Linked DNA regions of Homo sapiens: all the other regions are linked to region 3. The links are contacts of gene promoters, found by promoter capture Hi-C in blood cells and fetal thymus (Javierre and others, 2016). All regions are on one chromosome and are shown on one strand. The core of a region is centred on a gene start or on the middle of the fragment in contact, and the rest is flanking DNA. Distances in the headings are between cores, read along the strand shown. Region 1 overlaps RAP1GDS1 (Rap1 GTPase-GDP dissociation stimulator 1). Region 2 has its middle 190 kb from the start of RAP1GDS1. Region 3 holds the start of ADH5 (alcohol dehydrogenase 5 (class III), chi polypeptide). Region 4 overlaps TSPAN5 (tetraspanin 5).

Evidence for each region. The method cuts DNA at HindIII sites, captures the fragments that hold promoters and counts their contacts. A CHiCAGO score of 5 or more calls a contact.
Region 1: a fragment that was not itself captured here is called in contact with the fragment with the promoter of ADH5 in region 3 in 2 of 17 cell types (activated CD4 T cells and M2 macrophages); the score reaches 5.5 in activated CD4 T cells.
Region 2: a fragment that was not itself captured here is called in contact with the fragment with the promoter of ADH5 in region 3 in 2 of 17 cell types (non-activated CD4 T cells and naive B cells); the score reaches 5.3 in non-activated CD4 T cells.
Region 4: a fragment that was not itself captured here is called in contact with the fragment with the promoter of ADH5 in region 3 in 1 of 17 cell types (M0 macrophages); the score reaches 6.6 in M0 macrophages.

Annotation. Positions count from the first base shown.
Region 1 is chr4:98,433,796-98,437,484 of GRCh38, forward strand. It overlaps RAP1GDS1 (Rap1 GTPase-GDP dissociation stimulator 1), which reads left to right. Exons shown (of 15, transcript NM_001100427.2): 13 at 141-267; 14 at 3,145-3,273. Among named protein-coding and RNA genes, the nearest start is that of RAP1GDS1, 170 kb to the left of the region's middle. The HindIII fragment of the contact is 2,671 bases long and covers 1-2,649 here.
Region 2 is chr4:98,449,836-98,453,774 of GRCh38, forward strand. No RefSeq gene overlaps it. Among named protein-coding and RNA genes, the nearest start is that of RAP1GDS1, 190 kb to the left of the region's middle. The HindIII fragment of the contact is 5,158 bases long and covers 91-3,939 here.
Region 3 is chr4:99,086,543-99,090,647 of GRCh38, forward strand. ADH5 (alcohol dehydrogenase 5 (class III), chi polypeptide) reads right to left here and starts at 2,246. Exons shown (of 9, transcript NM_000671.4): 1 at 2,147-2,246. The coding sequence starts at 2,158. It overlaps LOC100507053 (a long non-coding RNA gene), which reads left to right and starts at 2,315. Exons shown (of 10, transcript NR_037884.1): 1 at 2,315-2,742. RefSeq lists a promoter at 2,191-3,444 and a silencer at 2,229-2,278. The HindIII fragment of the contact is 7,789 bases long and covers 1,974-4,105 here.
Region 4 is chr4:98,476,301-98,480,394 of GRCh38, forward strand. It overlaps TSPAN5 (tetraspanin 5), which reads right to left. Exons shown (of 8, transcript NM_005723.4): 5 at 2,385-2,510; 6 at 113-160; 7 at 1-5. Among named protein-coding and RNA genes, the nearest start is that of TSPAN5, 180 kb to the right of the region's middle. The HindIII fragment of the contact is 1,590 bases long and covers 465-2,054 here.

The sequences.
Region 1 (3,689 bases), core at 64-2,563, 650 kb before region 3:
GAGAAAAAAACTATGATTAAATCAAATGATTCATACAGGACACTGTCGCAAAACCACTCAACAATGAGTTGACTGATTTTAATGCATGTTCCTTATGTTTAAAATTAAAGTCTATAATTCTCTGATATTATTTATTGTAGGATGTAATTAAAACCATTGTGCAGAGTGGTGGCATCAAGCATCTAGTTACCATGGCAACTAGTGAACATGTAATAATGCAGAATGAAGCTCTTGTTGCTTTGGCATTAATAGCAGCTTTAGAATTGGGTAAGTACCCCAGTGACAAACTTATTTTCTTCTATTTTTATCTTGGATGAAAGGAAGTATAGAAGTGGAGTTGAAGTCAGACAGAACCTTGACTGGAAGCATTTTGCTAGTGTCTGTACCGTTCTCTGAATCTATGGAAAATCATTCTATATAGATTGTTACAGCTGTCCCCTTTGGCTGTGTTTTTGGTAACATTTTTAGGGCAATGCATTAAGGTAAGTTTAACTTTTAAATAATGTCTCAAGTTACAGCCACTTAGAGAATAGAGAAAACGTTTTCAGCAGGCTTCACAGAGAAACCAAACAATATTTAGAATATGACAGCATATGAAGAGTCTGCTACTCTCCCAGTGACCCATACTTTCTCTTCCATCTCTGCTGGTTCTCTCTACTACCGATTCTTTCTTGCTGTTCTCCTTCTCCATCACCGTGACTTCTATTGCCTTACTCTAATGTCTTGTCTTCTGTGTTACCCTTCTGTGTGTTTTGCATTCAGAACTCCCCCAAAGCAGAGGCTAAATAGGCTAAATAATTTCATTAGTTTCAGTTTAACATAGCTTTTTTTTTTTTTTTTTTGAAACAGTCTTGCTTTGTCACCCAGGAGGCTAGAGTGCAGTGGCGCAATCTCAGCTCACTGCAACGTCCGCGTCCTGGGTTCAAGCAATTCTCGTGCCTCAGCCTCCTGAGTAGCTGGGATTACAGGTGCATGCCACTGTGCCTGACTAATTTTTGTATGTTTTGTAGAGACAGGGTTTCACCATGTTGGTCAGGCTGGTCTTGAACTCCTGACCTCAAGTGATCCACCCACCTCAGCCCTCCCAAAGCGCTGGGATTACAGGCGTGATCCACCATGCCCGGCCCTAATATAGCATTTCTGTTGGGCAGAATTCATCACGAGAAGCTAATCCGTAGACATCTAGTTTATGAATAGCATAAGCTGGATGGCTTTGGAGCCAACCCAAGACAGTCAGCCAGGGATGGTGTAATAGAGTCACGTGGCCTGTGGTTAAGGCCTAAGGCTGCTTAACACAAAGGAGGACTTTACACTTAGTAGGGATGTCCTATCCAATTCAAAGCCATTTGGGTAAATACTGTTAACTGATAGCCTCTTAATTCCCACTGACAACTTAGATCCATAATTCTCACACTGGGGCGAATGGACCCTCCAACCCCAGTTCCAGGAAGAGGAAACACTCATGTGAGTATTTTTTTATGTGCATAGTGTGTAATGATCAAGTCAAGGTGTATAGGATATCTGTCTCCTTGAATGGTCTGTTGGTGACTGGAAGCCTTACCAATAACAGTCAGTGAACATATATTTTGTATATGAATTATATACTATATTCTTATAATAAAGCCAGAGAAAAGAAAATGTTAAGAAAATTGTAGGGAAGAGAAAATATATTTACTATTTATTAAGTAGAAGTGGATTATCAAGAAGGTCTTGAATCCTTGTCTTCACACTGAGTAGGCTGAGGAAGGGGAAGAACAGAAGGGGCTTAGGCTTGCTCTCTCAGGGATGGCAGAAGAGAAGAAAATCCAGGTATAATTGGACCCACACAGTTCAAACTTACGTTGTTCAAGGGTCAACTGTATATTCTTTGGTGAAATGCTGATTTTTGTCTTTTAACCATTTTTTTTTTGACTGTTGAGTTTTGAGAGTTCTTTATATATTCTAAAAATTTTGTAGTTCTATATTTTACATTTAAGTCTGTAATCCATTTTGAGTTAATATCGGTATAAGTCACGCCTGTAATCCCAGCACTTTGGGAGGCCGAGGCGGGTGGATCATGAGGTCAGGAGATCGAGACCATCCTGGCTAACACAGTGAAACCCCGTCTCTACTAAAAATACAAAAAATTAGCCGGGAGCGGTGGCGGGCTCCTGTAGTCCCAGCTACTTGAGAGGCTGAGGCAGGAGAATGGCGTGAACCCAGGAGGCGGAGCTTGCAGTGAGCCGAGATCGCGCCACTGCACTCCAGCCTGGGCGACAGAGCCAGACGCTGTCTCAAAAAAAAAATATATATATATATATATATCGGTATAAGGTACGAGGTTTAGGTTAGGGTTCATTTTCTTTGTCCCATGGATGTCTAATTGTACTAGCACCTTTCGTTGAAAAGCTGTCTTTCCTCCACTGCACTGATTTTGTACCATTGTCAAAAGTCAGTTGAGCATATATGTGTGAGTCTATTTCTGGGTCTTCCATTCAGTGCCTTTGACATAAGTGCCTATGTTGCCACCAGTAATATGCTATCTTGATTACTGTAGCTATAGAGTAAGCCTTAATACTGGATGGAGGAATTCCTCACACTTTATTCTTCTTTATCAAGATGGTTTTAGCTATTTTAGGGCCTGTGGCTTTCCATGTAAGTTTTAGTATAAGCTTGTATATTTTCTACAGAAAATCTTGCTAGGATTTTGATTGAAATTCCACTGAGTCCTTATCTTTTATTTGTGGAGGGAATTATGTGATTTATAGGATTTGCTCCAAAATAATTTGAGATGGATGACAGCAGGTGAATGAGAGAGATCGGCCATAATTCTTTAAGGTGATAAGTGCATAAGGTATATTATTATACCATCTTTTCTGATTTTGCATATGTTTAACATTTTCCATAATAAAAAGTTTAATTGTCTCATATTAAAAGAAATGTGTTAGTATTAAATAGTAAGCTTAAACACCTGAAGTGTCTACTAAAATCTAATTCTATTTACTCTTTTCACATGGTCTGAATTTAATATTATTTTTCTAGGTCATTATTATTTATCAGTTCCATTTAGAAGGTTTCGTATGGTCAATTTCTTCAAAATGAAGCAGTGTTTATCCTGAGGATACTGGGTTCGTACGCAGTAGATATACTTTGTTTTATTTGTAGGCACTGCTGAGAAAGATCTAGAAAGTGCTAAACTTGTACAGATTTTACATAGACTGCTAGCAGATGAGAGAAGTGCTCCTGAAATCAAATATAATTCCATGGTCCTGATATGTGCTCTTATGGGATCTGGTAAGTATTCTTCTATCATTTGATGTCCATAAACATATGGTTCACATTAAATATTAAATATAGAGTAATAGTAAATGATGGTTTTGGGTTTTAAAGCCGTTAGAAATTAGTTTATGGAGGTTATAAGATAACTTTTTTCCCCTATTACTGTAAACACTCATTTCTTCATGGTGATGACATTGAAAATCTTCTCTTCTAGCTGTCTTGAAATATACACTACATTGGTATTTTCTAGCCATCCAACTGTATAATAGATAGAATTACTTTTCACTGAAGACATTCCCAAAAGATTCTCACTACAATAGAAAGTATCATATAGCAAATCTAGACAACATTCAGTATTGCAAAATCAGTAAGTCTCATGAACCCTAAAATGTTATTTTATAGCAGGCACAGGTTCTGATTTTGTATGCCAT
Region 2 (3,939 bases), core at 1,420-3,919, 640 kb before region 3:
AATGTCTTTGTGGCAAATATGAATTATTTCTTCAATATCCAGCTCTCCTTATTAACAGAACCCCGATTTTGTTCAGAGACTAGTACGTCAAGCTTCAAATAGTCCCATTTTCCAGCTTTCCAAGCTAGTGCTACAGTTCCATAGAAATCCCCAGATATGGCATCCTTTAGTAAATAGAAAGGAAAAGACCTGCTGGGCAAATGCTGTTTTGTCCCTTCACCTTTTCCTTTTTTTCCCCTCCTTCTTGCCTCAAATATGCAGCCCTTCAGCAACGATTAGGTAGAAACCTGAGGATGAAGGCCTGTACCTTAAGGACAGTGGAACAGAAAGGTACAAAGAGCCTGGGTCCACAGGAGCATCAATAAGCTGGAGTAGCGGCCCTATGCTGAGAACCCTCATGCTGATGGCAGGAGACACACACCTGACGTTGAAATCCCTCAGGCAGGGTTTTCCATTATTTCAAATGGAATGAAATCTTGATTCATGAAGCTAGTCGTTAATGTATCAAAATCTCCCCTAGGACAATTTGTTCTGCTTAAAGGCCATGGCCACAGACCTCATGACAACAGAATCCAAAGGATTTAAACAACTGGGGCTACCAGTTTTAACCCTCAAAGTTCAAAAATACACCAAAAAGCCTGACTCTCTAACTCAACAGCCTTCCTCACTACCCAAAGATTTACTAAACACTTACTATGTCAGGCACTGTGTTGGAAGAAGATAAACATGAACCTGATTATTGAGCAAACAAGTAAGGGCTTTAACCAAGGCATGAACAGAGTTATGGGGTTCTGTAGAGGTGACTCTGGGTGCTCTGGGCATCTTGGGGCAGAGGGTACATAGGAAGGAAGGGTGGGAGCAAAAGAAAAGGCTAGGAAAATAGAGCAGAAGAGATGGCAGGAGCAGGGAGTAGACATTAGCCATTTTAACTTTGTATTATATAACGGAAAAACCAAGGTTTCTACATAAAAGATGGGTATATTTGCTTTATGTTTTGTTCTAGAATCAGAATTATTGCTAATGGGGGTGGGGCAGGCTAGCAGAAAGGAAATTAATAGGTAATTGTGATGAATTCCTGATGTTGAGAGACAATTCTCGATGGGTATCTTGTATTTCCATACCTCTGTGAAAGACAGCTTCAGCTTTTTCTTTTTAACTACCTTTTCAAGGATCTTTATATGCCAAATAGCCTTGTAAGATAGAGACAGTGTCTCCCTGGGACAGGCAGATTTATTTTTACTGTACAGAAATCAAGATAAGGTCTCCCTCGGGGGCAAAGTTTGGTCAGGATCACTTGCAGGCCCCTTTATGAGACTGGGGTTTCCTAAACTCAGTTCCTTCGCTGGGGCATAAACCTGCTGTGTGTGAAGTATCCATCTGGGCCACTGTTCCCTGTCGGACTTGGGAAGCAAGAGAAACTACTGCAAACATGAGATTCATTTTACCAGGGGTGCATGCATAATAAAGTCCTTTCAGTCTGACCCAGGAGTCTCAGGCCTTCTCTCAGCATCTATGTACCTGTGGCAGGCTAACTTGTTAGCTTGCAAGGAGGGTAAAATCTCAAACACTTCACAATTGTTGATGCCTAAACTAGGATTTTTAGAGAGGAAGGGTCTGGGATACTTTTATGGAGCTAGAGATTGGAAAAGAAGATCATTCTGAAGTATCTGAGTTGGGTGACTGGGCAGAAGATGGTGGTGATGTTAACTAAAAGGAGGAACACAGAAAGGAAAGTGGGTTCCTGTAAAATGAGTTGGCTTTGACACATTTGGTTGGAGATGCCTAGAGGATCTTGAGGAGGAGATAGGCAAGTGGACACGTTCTTATTCCAGCTGAGCCATGAGTACAGGGGTTGCTCCATAAACAAACTGAGCCCCGCAGGCCTCAGTGCTCCCTTTGGCACTTCCTAAACTCACACATCATTGTGTTGCCTCAGGGTCCCCAGGAAACACCAACAATAGATCCATTTTTTTAAAAAGTTTGCTTAAATTAGTCAGACATGGTGGTGTGTGCCTGTAGTCGCAGCTATATGAAAGGTTGAGGTGGGAGGATTGTTTGAGCCTGAAAGGCAGAGGTTGCAGTGAGCCGTGGTCATGCCACTGTACTCCAGACTGGGTGACAGAGCAAGACCCTGTCTAAAAAAAAAAAAAAGTGTGCTTTTCCCAACACTTAGGGAATCAAATCCCTGGAACTGGGGCCTGGGTATCTGAATTTTTTTAAAGCTCCAAAGGTGATTCTGATCTGCAGCCAGAGTAGAAAAACGCCAGCTAGAACCAAGGGCAATGAAATGATACTTTGCTTAAAGTCCTCAGAGTGTGGCCTGGCCAACAAGAGTCCTCACCTTGTTTGGTCAAGTAGGTAGCCATTTCCTGAATTGATACCCCAGGATTTTTGTTCAACGTCCATCCTTTTTGAGGCCACTGAGTTCTGACTCAGAGACTAATAATCACTTGCCAAGTAAAGCACCATACTTAAAGAGATCAGATATCCTGAGCCACCCAGCTCCCAGATGTTGCTGTAAAGGAGACATTATATCCCAGGATGGTTCAGAGATTTTTCTGCTCCCCTAAACTTTCTGGAATCCTGCCTGACACATCCTCTGGATTAATCATCAGGATACCCTCATGCCCAGCATATGGGGCATAGCCCCGGACACAACCATCCCCTACCCCCATCATCCTTATGAAAAGCATGTTCTCTCAGACATCCAAAGTCTTTTGCTGATAGTCTGAGACTTTGAGCTCTTAGAGAAGGCAGAGGGGATGGTCGTGTGCTTGGTTAGCTCATAGCCTTTCTCCTTAGCTTTCCAAGTGCCCATGTGTACCTCATAGCCCTTCCATGTGCTGGCATGACTTCCTCCTATCTTGAAAAGGCTTTTCTCTCCATATGATCATGTCACCAGCAAACAGCAACAGTGTGGCTTCCTCTTTACCAATTTGGATGCCCTTTATTTCTTTCTCTTGCCTAATTGCTCTGGCTAGGATTTCTAGCACTATGTTGAATAGAAGTACTGGAAGTAGGCATCCTTGTCTTGTCCCAGTTCTCAGGGGGAATGCTTTCAACTTCTTCCCATTCAGTATAATGTTGACTGTGGGTTTGTCAGGATGGCTTTTATTACCTTAAGGTATTTCCCTTCTATGCCAATTTTGCTGAGGGTTTTAATCATAAAGGATGCTGGATTTTGTCAAATGCTTCTTCTGCATCTATTGAGATGATCATGTGATTTTTGTTTTTAATTCTGTTTATGTGGTGTATCACACTTTTTGACTTGCATATGTTAAGTATGCAGGGATGCAGAATACATCCCTGGTATGAAAACCACTTGATCATGTTGGATTATCTTTCTGATATGCTGTTGAATTTGGTTAGCTAGTATTTTCTTGAGGATTTTTACATCTACGTTTATCAGGGATATTGGTCTGTAGTTTCCTTTTTTGTTATGTCCTTTCCTGGTTTTGGTATTGGGGTGATACTGGCTTCACAGAATGACCTAGGGAGGATTCCCTCTTTCTCTGTGTTTTGGAATAGTGTCAATAGTATTGGTACCAAATCTTTGAATGTCTAATAGAATTCAGCTATGAACCTGTATGGTCCTGGACTTTTTTTTTTTTCTTGGTAACTTTTTATTACCATTTATCGCTGCTTGCTATTGGTCTGTTCAGAGTTTTTATTTCTTCCTGGTTTAATCTAGGTGAGTTGTATATTTCCAGGAATTTACCCATCTCCTTTAGGTTTTCTAGTTTATGTGCATAAAGGTGTTCTTAGTAGTCTTGAATTATCTTTTGTATTTCTGTGGTATGGATTATAACATCTCCCATTTCATTTCTAATTGAGCTTATTTGGATCTTCTCTCTTCATGGTTAATTTCACTAATGGGCTATCAACTTTATTCATCTTTTCAAAGAATCAGCTTTTTGTTTCATTTACCTTTTGTATTTT
Region 3 (4,105 bases), core at 996-3,495:
GGAGAGCTTCACTTCTAACCAGGATACTGAAGGATGAGGAAAAGGTAATTATAAATGGTGGTAAAACACCTACATATAGGGTGATTGTGAGAACTGAATAAGAAAGAATATGAAGTCCCTGGCCGGGCGCGGTGGCTCAAGCCTGTAATCCCAGCACTTTGGGAGGCCGAGGCGGGCGGATCACGAGGTCAGGAGATCGAGACCATCCTGGCTAGGTGAAACCCCGTCTCTACTAAAAATACAAAAAATTAGCCAGGGGAGGTGGCAGTCGCCTGTAGTCACAGCTACCGGGGAGGCTGAGGCAGGAGAACGGCGTGAACCCAGGAGGCGGAGCTTGTAGTGAGCCGAGATCGCGCCACTGCACTCCAGCCTGGGTGACAGAGCAAGACTGCGTCTCAAAAAAAAAAAAAAAAAAAAAAAAAGAATATGAAGTCCCTAACACAATCCTTGGCACAGCATAGCTTTGCAAAATAAGTTAGTAGTTATTGGTAGCAACAGAACAAACGGTTGAGGGAAAGGAGAGGTGAACTACATAGAGATATAAAAAATGGCCTCTGTAGGCCGGGTGCAGGGGCTCACGCCTGTAATCCCAGCACTTTGGGAGGCCGAGATGGGCGGATCACCTGAGGTCAGGAGTTGGAGACCAGCCTGGCCACTATGGCGAAACCCCGTCTCTACTAAAAATACAAAAATACCGAGCATGGTGACGGGCGCCGGTAATCCCAGCTACTCGGGAGGCTGAGACAGGAGAATCGCTTGAACCCGGGAGGCAAAGGTTGCAGTGACCCAAGATCGCGCTATCGCACTCCAGCCTGGGAAACAAAGAGCGAAACTCCGTCTGAACTGGCGGGGGAGGGGGGGGGGAGGGAAATGGCCTCTGTAAATTGGTGAGGTTGGAAATGTGGAAATGATCGTTTTTAAAATTAAATTGCAGATATTAAATCTCATAGTACAAAGAATCAGACACTGCATTAGAACCTTTTTCATTTCAATGTGCCATAAATTTCAACTCCACAAGTCAGATTCAGAATACTAACAATTAAGTTATGCAACATAGGAATCCAAAGAAACAAGAATACTAAATTTGATGGCCTGCTCCCCTTTAAAAAATGTCTTAATGGAGCCTAACCTTTTCCTTTTACTGACAATTCTAAGCAAAACAAAGCCCCACTCTAAATCCGCGGGAAATGGCCCTACTTCAACATTTGAACTATAGTAACAATTATAATCTTTCACCTTCTCTGAATAAAGACACTCAGTAATAAGGAAAAGCAACTACCAGTTTAAGTCTGAAAGACTGTTTAGAGTTTATTTCTTTCAAACTCCAATATGTTTAAGGCCATTTGTCTTACTAGAAAATGTCCAAAATTGCAAAACATTAAAATAATCAGCAACTTTAGACTGAGTATGTTATTCGTAATTTCTGCCTTTCTTTACTGTCTAATTTGTATTTTATGAATTTGTCATAGAGGAGCAGACCTGGGTCGGAATCCCAGCTCGCCATCGTTGGTGTGACCAAGCACAACCAACCTCAAACCTCAGTTTTTGGTAAGATGGGGATAACACCTCGCAGAGGTGTTTGTTACGTGAGGACTAGAGGGAATATAAATCTCTTGGTATTTAAGTGCTCGAAAATGTTTCTGAAAGGGACGTAGGGGTCTTTCCAAAATACACTCCTTGGAGGCACAATAATTAAGGCGTAGGCTCAATTATGCAACACAAGCAACCTAGGAGTTAGAAGCACGGGATCTGGCTGCAGCTCTGCCAAGTATGCAAGCTGCAAGAATGACCCAGAGCGAGTTACTTAATTTCGTGTAAGAAGCAATGCGTGGCCGCTCCTAAGCCATTTCCACTGGGATACCGACCTGACCAGCCCCTGCCCCCCACTCTCCGGCTCTCCCACCCCCCCACCCCGTTCCGACTGTCCCAGAAGCAGCAAAGAAAGCTGCTTCCCAACTGAAGAGCCGAGACAAAGCTTCCTTCTCTTTCTGCCCCTCTGAGCCGCTCGCTGGGGGCCCAGTTTCAGAACCAAGAGCCAGATCCCGTCTTGGGCGCCGAGCCTCGCGCGCCCCCGAGGATAGCAGCCTAGTCCCATGCCATGCACTCCCTCCCTTGGACTCAGGGCCCTCCGCTCAACGGGCCCTACCTCGTTCGCCATGTTCACGGATTCTGGTCGGCGCGGGGGGCTGACATCCGGGGTGGGCCGCGCAGCGACGGAGGCATGGGCGTGGCGAGCGCCTAGCGAGGGGGGCGGGGCGTGGGGGGGGCTTGCAATGGCTCCAACCGGAAGGGCGGTGCTCGAGCTGTGGTGCGTGCCGCTAAGTTGTGCGTTCCAGGGTGCACTCGCCGGCGAGGCTGCACGGCGCCGGTTTCATTGCTAAAATCCGACGGACTTGTTGCAGAACTCGTTTTTTTTGTCGGGAAAGGGCTTCCCCGTGTAACTTTACAGCAGTTATCGTAGATAAGACTTGCAAATTACAGATGTGGACGGTGAGGGAACGGGAATTTCACTGAAAGCGCCTGAGAACCAGTAAGAGACCTGCAACAGCTTTGTGCTCCACTGGCGAATGCTTCCTCCCCTAATACACATTATGTGTGCTTGGAGACACAAGGAGTAAGATACAGCCCCTCAAGGGACTCGTCATAGGGAGAGGACACAGCTTTGGGAATAAAGGGGCCACAAAGGAGGAGAGAGGAGTTTGCTGAAACTTCCCAAGCTCCCATTCCAGCAGTTCCTGAAGGGTAGGTAGGATTTTGGGGAGACAGTAGAACGTGGGCAGAGAACTTTGGAAGGAGGAGATGAGGAGAACAAAAAGTCTCCTGATCCTGGACAGTTTTTTGTGTTAAGAGTGGGCCAGAGTGTAGAGAGAGAGAATGTAGTATTTGTCGGTTTACTCTTTCTTTGTTTGTTTGAGACGGAGTCTCGCACTGTCGCCCAGGCTGGAGTGCAGTGGCGCGATCTCGGGTCACTGCAACCTCCGCCTCCTAGGTTCAAGTGATTCTCGTGCCTCAGCCTCCTGAGTAGTTGGGATCACAGGCACACGCCACCACGCTGGCTCAATTTTGTATTTTTAGTAGAGATTGGGAGTGGGGGCAGGGGGTTGGTCTCACCATGTATGCCAGTCTGGTCTTGAACTCCTAACCTCAAGTGATTCACCCACCTCAGCCTCCCAAAGTGCTGGGATTACGGGCATGAGCCACCGCACCTGGCCTGCCAGTTTACTCTTAAACTCTGTTGTAAACGCTGAATTTTGTTAAAATAGCTCTGTCAGACACACTGCTCTTTTCTGTCTTTCAGTCTTTTTCTTGGCTCTTTTCCGGGTACATATGGTAAGATTGTCCAAAGTCTTTCCGTCCTTTCACTCCACTCTCTCACTCACACTTTGGCTTTTAACGTCTATTTATGGAAAGATGACTACCAGATTATTATCTCCAATCAGGATGGCTCCCCTAAACTCCAGACTTGGACATGTAACTGCCTACTGGATTTCTGTCTCCATTAGGATATCTCACAATCGAATGCAACTCCTAAAACTCCTATTAATATTTTCTCCTTATAGGGACTCTTTCCTCTGTGTGTTGACACTCTCCACATACTTACCCTAGCCAGAAACATGAGAGTCACAACTTCTCCCTCTCCCTCGGTCCCTGCATTCAGTTTGTCACCAAGCCCTAAATATCTCTCTGGTCTTGTGCCTCTCTCTCCCCACTGCTGCTGTATTAGTTCAGGCTTTCATAATTTCTTACAGGATTACTGAAAGAGCCTCCCATCTGATTTCTTTGATGCCAGGCCCTTGAATCTAATACTTAAAAAGGAATGCCCTGTTAGTGATCTTTCCAAAACGTAACATCAATCAATGCCATTTCCTATTTTCCTTCAATAATTTTTGAATGAGTTAGGCTATAAATAAATAAATAAATAAATAAATAAATACCATTCTTCTATTTAAAAATATTCAAGGGAGAACAAATGGATAAAATCCAAACTCTTTAGGCCACTCAGGCTCTGAATTACTTCCTTCTGTATATACCTCTATCCTTATTTCCTGCTCTCCTGCCAAATTTCACACCAACATTTAAGGAACATTCGTAGTTCCTTAAAGGG
Region 4 (4,094 bases), core at 10-2,509, 610 kb before region 3:
ACTTCCTTCACAAGAGAAGAGGAGAGCACATTGTCACAGATAGAGCACCAGGCACAGGCCAAAGCTCCTCCAACACCCTTCGTGCTAAGCAACAACATGAGATTCCACTTACTGGTTTTTGCCTGGCATCATAGCCACACTGAGTGTTGATGACATCTTCCTGGTGAAGAAAGGAAAGAGAAAAGTGAAATTTACTCATTAGACAGAAAGCCCACCTAGAAATGAGCAGAAGACTTCTGTTACGCATTAGTAATAAAATGTGTATCTGGGCACAAAGACTGCAGCACTATGTTAAACACTTTATATACATGATCCCATGTCATTATTGCGACAATCTTCAGAAGTAGGTATTAAAATATGCCCTATTTTACAAATAAGGAAAACTAAGGCTTGGGGAATATCAGAAAAGACAGCAAGTCTATCACACAGGAGGCTCAAGATTCAAAGTGGTGCCAACCTCAAGAAGCTTATGGGATTTAGGGAACTGGAGACACAGATAAAAAACATAAAGGGCACAGTGAATCTTCATGTATGCTCTTTTGGATGGACTGCTACTTTTTAATCTATGTACTTCCATGTTACTTAAATTGTTTTTCAATGAGCTTTTAATAATTAAAAAACAAAACAATGCCCCGACCACATAATCACACAGACAACCTGACGTCTCACAGGGTCTGATCAGAAACATGGTTCCACTTTTTCGGGTTGTTTATTTTCCTTCTCTGCGGGGTGTGGGGCAGATTTTATTAGCTTAGAGCGCAAGGAATGAGCTAGCTCTGCCCAGAGGATCTGTAGGTGAAAGGGGAAGCATTAATGCCTCTGAGAATACAGAATTCTCCCAAGGGAGTGTTAATGTGGGACAGGAACTGGCGACAGGAGGCGCACTGTGCGGCACCCGCTGGCCAGTGCAAGGCCACCAGGATGAGCCCCTCAAGCTCTGAGTGGGCACTCTGCTGCCATGTGGCTCTCCTCAGAAGGGAGAGGAGGTTTGAGCTGGTGGGAAGGGCAGCTGGCGGGGCAGCACAGTCCTTAGTGACTTTGTCTCCTCTTTCAGACCAAGAGAAACAGCTGAGGTGGTCCCCTGGAGGAAGCCCACAGGGAAGTTCTGCTTTTCCACTCCAAGACCATAGCTCCTTTTAAGAGCCCCACAGCCTCCACCATAAGAAGGAGCATCCCCACTGAGCTCATCAGCACCCACTCGGCTCTGCTTCTGAGGGGTAAGGGCGAGCCTTGGGGAGTACATCTGGAGACTGCAGGGCCAGAGAACAGTTGAGGAGTCCCAGAAGGGTTCTGCAGCTAGGAGCACACAGAGATGCGTGGAGTAACCTCTCATGTTTGTCATTCTAACACTAGAGAGTTACCTTTTTTTTTTTTTTTTAAGAATTGTGGTCTCACTCTGTCACCAGGATGGAGGGCAGTGGCATGATCATGGCTCACTGCAGCCTCAAACTCCTGGGCTCAAGTGATCCTGTTTCAGCCTCCAGAGTAGATGGGACCACGGGTGTGTGCCACCACACATGGCTAATTTTTTAATTTTTTTGTAGAGATGGGGTCTCACTATGTTGCTCAGGCTGGTCTTTAACTCCTGGGCTCAAGGGATCCTCCCACCTCAGCCTGCCAAAGTGCTGGGATTACAGGTGTGAACTACTATGCCTGGCTTAAGAATTGCATTTTAAGTCATTCTATATACCAGGCACGATTTGACACAAAATATAATCAAACCTGTGGCAAAAGTGAGTGACTTACAAATAGATTTTATATTTTATTCTTTTTTATAATAAAATGCAAACTGCATGACTATAGTCATGATGACATTCAGGAGTCTGGGCAGCTGTGGTCTTCCTACACAGCAGTCCAGGCCTATCTTGTCTCAAACTCTCCTCCTACTCCTAATAGTTCCCCTAGAACTAAGCCAAAAAGAAAAGGGTTACTAACCCCAAACCAATGCAGAGAGCTCTCATATGAGCCTGCCCTTCTCATGAAGAAAGGCTAACAGATGATACAGGCAAGTTGCCTGGGTCTCATATTCCACTCCATTGCCTGCTAGCAGTGCAAGCTTGGGAAAGTCACTTACACCTCATGTGCCTTGATTTCTTCCCCTGAAAAGGGAGGGTAATGGTGGTATCTGCCAGTAGGAATGTGCCCAACTTAAATGAGCCAACACACATAAAGGCTTAGAATAGGAACCAGCACACACTGCTAAATTAATGCCAGCAATTATTACTCCTACTAGGAAGATTTGAGCACCATAACCCCCTACAGGAGCTACAAATACGAGTAACCAGGTAAGAAGAGGGTTCAACCAAAAAATCACTCTGCTCGTCCCATGCACACTCTCGGCATGATGTACAGAGTAGGCCAATAGTTCGCTGGCATTCACTTACTGCGGGATCTTTAGTGCAGCAGGAGAATGGAACGCCACATCGCTCTCGACTTGCATTGGAATCTGTGCAATTGAAGTAAATATTTAGGTTCCAATCATCAGCTCCAAAAGCCCCACAGCACTGCCACTAGAGCAAACAGGAAAGAATTAGAACATCCCAACTTGGAGGCAAGCAGTCACCTACACTCACACCCGCCGAACGACACCAGCTTCTGCCAGCTCTGACCTTCTTTTCTGTCCTAGACTTTATTTTTAAGCCAAACTGAACCTAAATGGCCCATATAAAATCTTCCAAATTAATTAGGGCTGAAGGTTTGTAGGGATGTGTTGGCACGTGATTTAAACAACTGATGAGACCTGTGGTGTTAGGTGGAAGAAGGGCAGAGCAGCTGTACAGCAGGGCTCAGTTAGAACAAGATCTGTTTGGCTTGGGCACGTCATTCTAGAAGGAGAAACAAGAACATTCTAGAAGGGTAAATAAGACACTAACGACAGTGGTAGTGACTGAAGGAGGCAACTGGGGTTATGGGTGGGCTAACTATAGCTTACTTTTTCAAAGTTTTGATCTCTACATTCTAATAGTTTTTTTAAAGATCTGTTTTGTTTTATGGAGCGCAGGGAGACCCCCTGAAACTATTGCTATGGAATAAAAGATGAAATGCTCCTGATTACTGGAAATACAAAATTGCATGCAGGATTGTGTAAAGACAATGCCAGGTTGGACTGCCAGAATGAGCCAACAGTGCGTGATGTGCTTCCCCCTGCAGAGAGCCTATGAATGGACGTGCAGTCAGGGAGGTTTCACATCACCAAGATTCCTATCCCAGAAAAGCAGATGTTCATAGCTCTGGGAATAGAATGCGACCTTTGTGGAGAGCCTATAAACAGACACATGAGGGGCACCTGTCCATATGTATAAGACAGGGCTATAAATGCCCTCATCTTGCCACGGCTCTTCTAGACCTCTTTAGGGTTAAGGCATACTCCCTTCTGAGAATTTCTGGTCTAACTGGTTGTGTAGCTTCACGTCCTGTTTCTATGGATTGTTTGTAACTGGCTTTTGCTGCAACTGTTACTGCTGACTAATATCTTGCTAATCATAGGTTGTGGAAAGACTGTGTTTCTGTTTTAAGGCTCTGTTAGAAATTACTGAAGCACACACTATATTGTAAATTCTTATCCCTGTATACTGTACTTTTGCATACAGATGTTATGTTAAAGAATTACTTCATCCCCATGTGACCATCTCACCTCATAATCAAATGACCTAAATCCCTCACTAACCTACCCCCACCCTCACTAAACTTAATAATAAATTCTGGTATATCCAGTGCATTGTTGGCACTGCGTGACCAGAAGGCGGTGACCCCCCTGGACCCAGCTTTCACTATCTTGTGTGTGTCTATTATTTCTCGACCTGCCGATCCGCCTGGGAACAGAGAGATCCCTGTTGCATTGCAGGCTGCTGGCCAGATCCCGCAATAATGGAGGTATAACTGACATACAATAAATTGCACATTTTAAAGTATACAATTTGATAAATTTTGACATCTGTATACATCACAAAAATGTCACCACAATCAATGGATATATAGTTGATATATCCATTACCACCAAAAATTTTAGAGGTTAACTTTTCATCATATTTGTTTCTACTCTGAGTTTGTTTAAAAACAAGTGCATGTGTTTTACATTTTCAACTTTAAAAAGT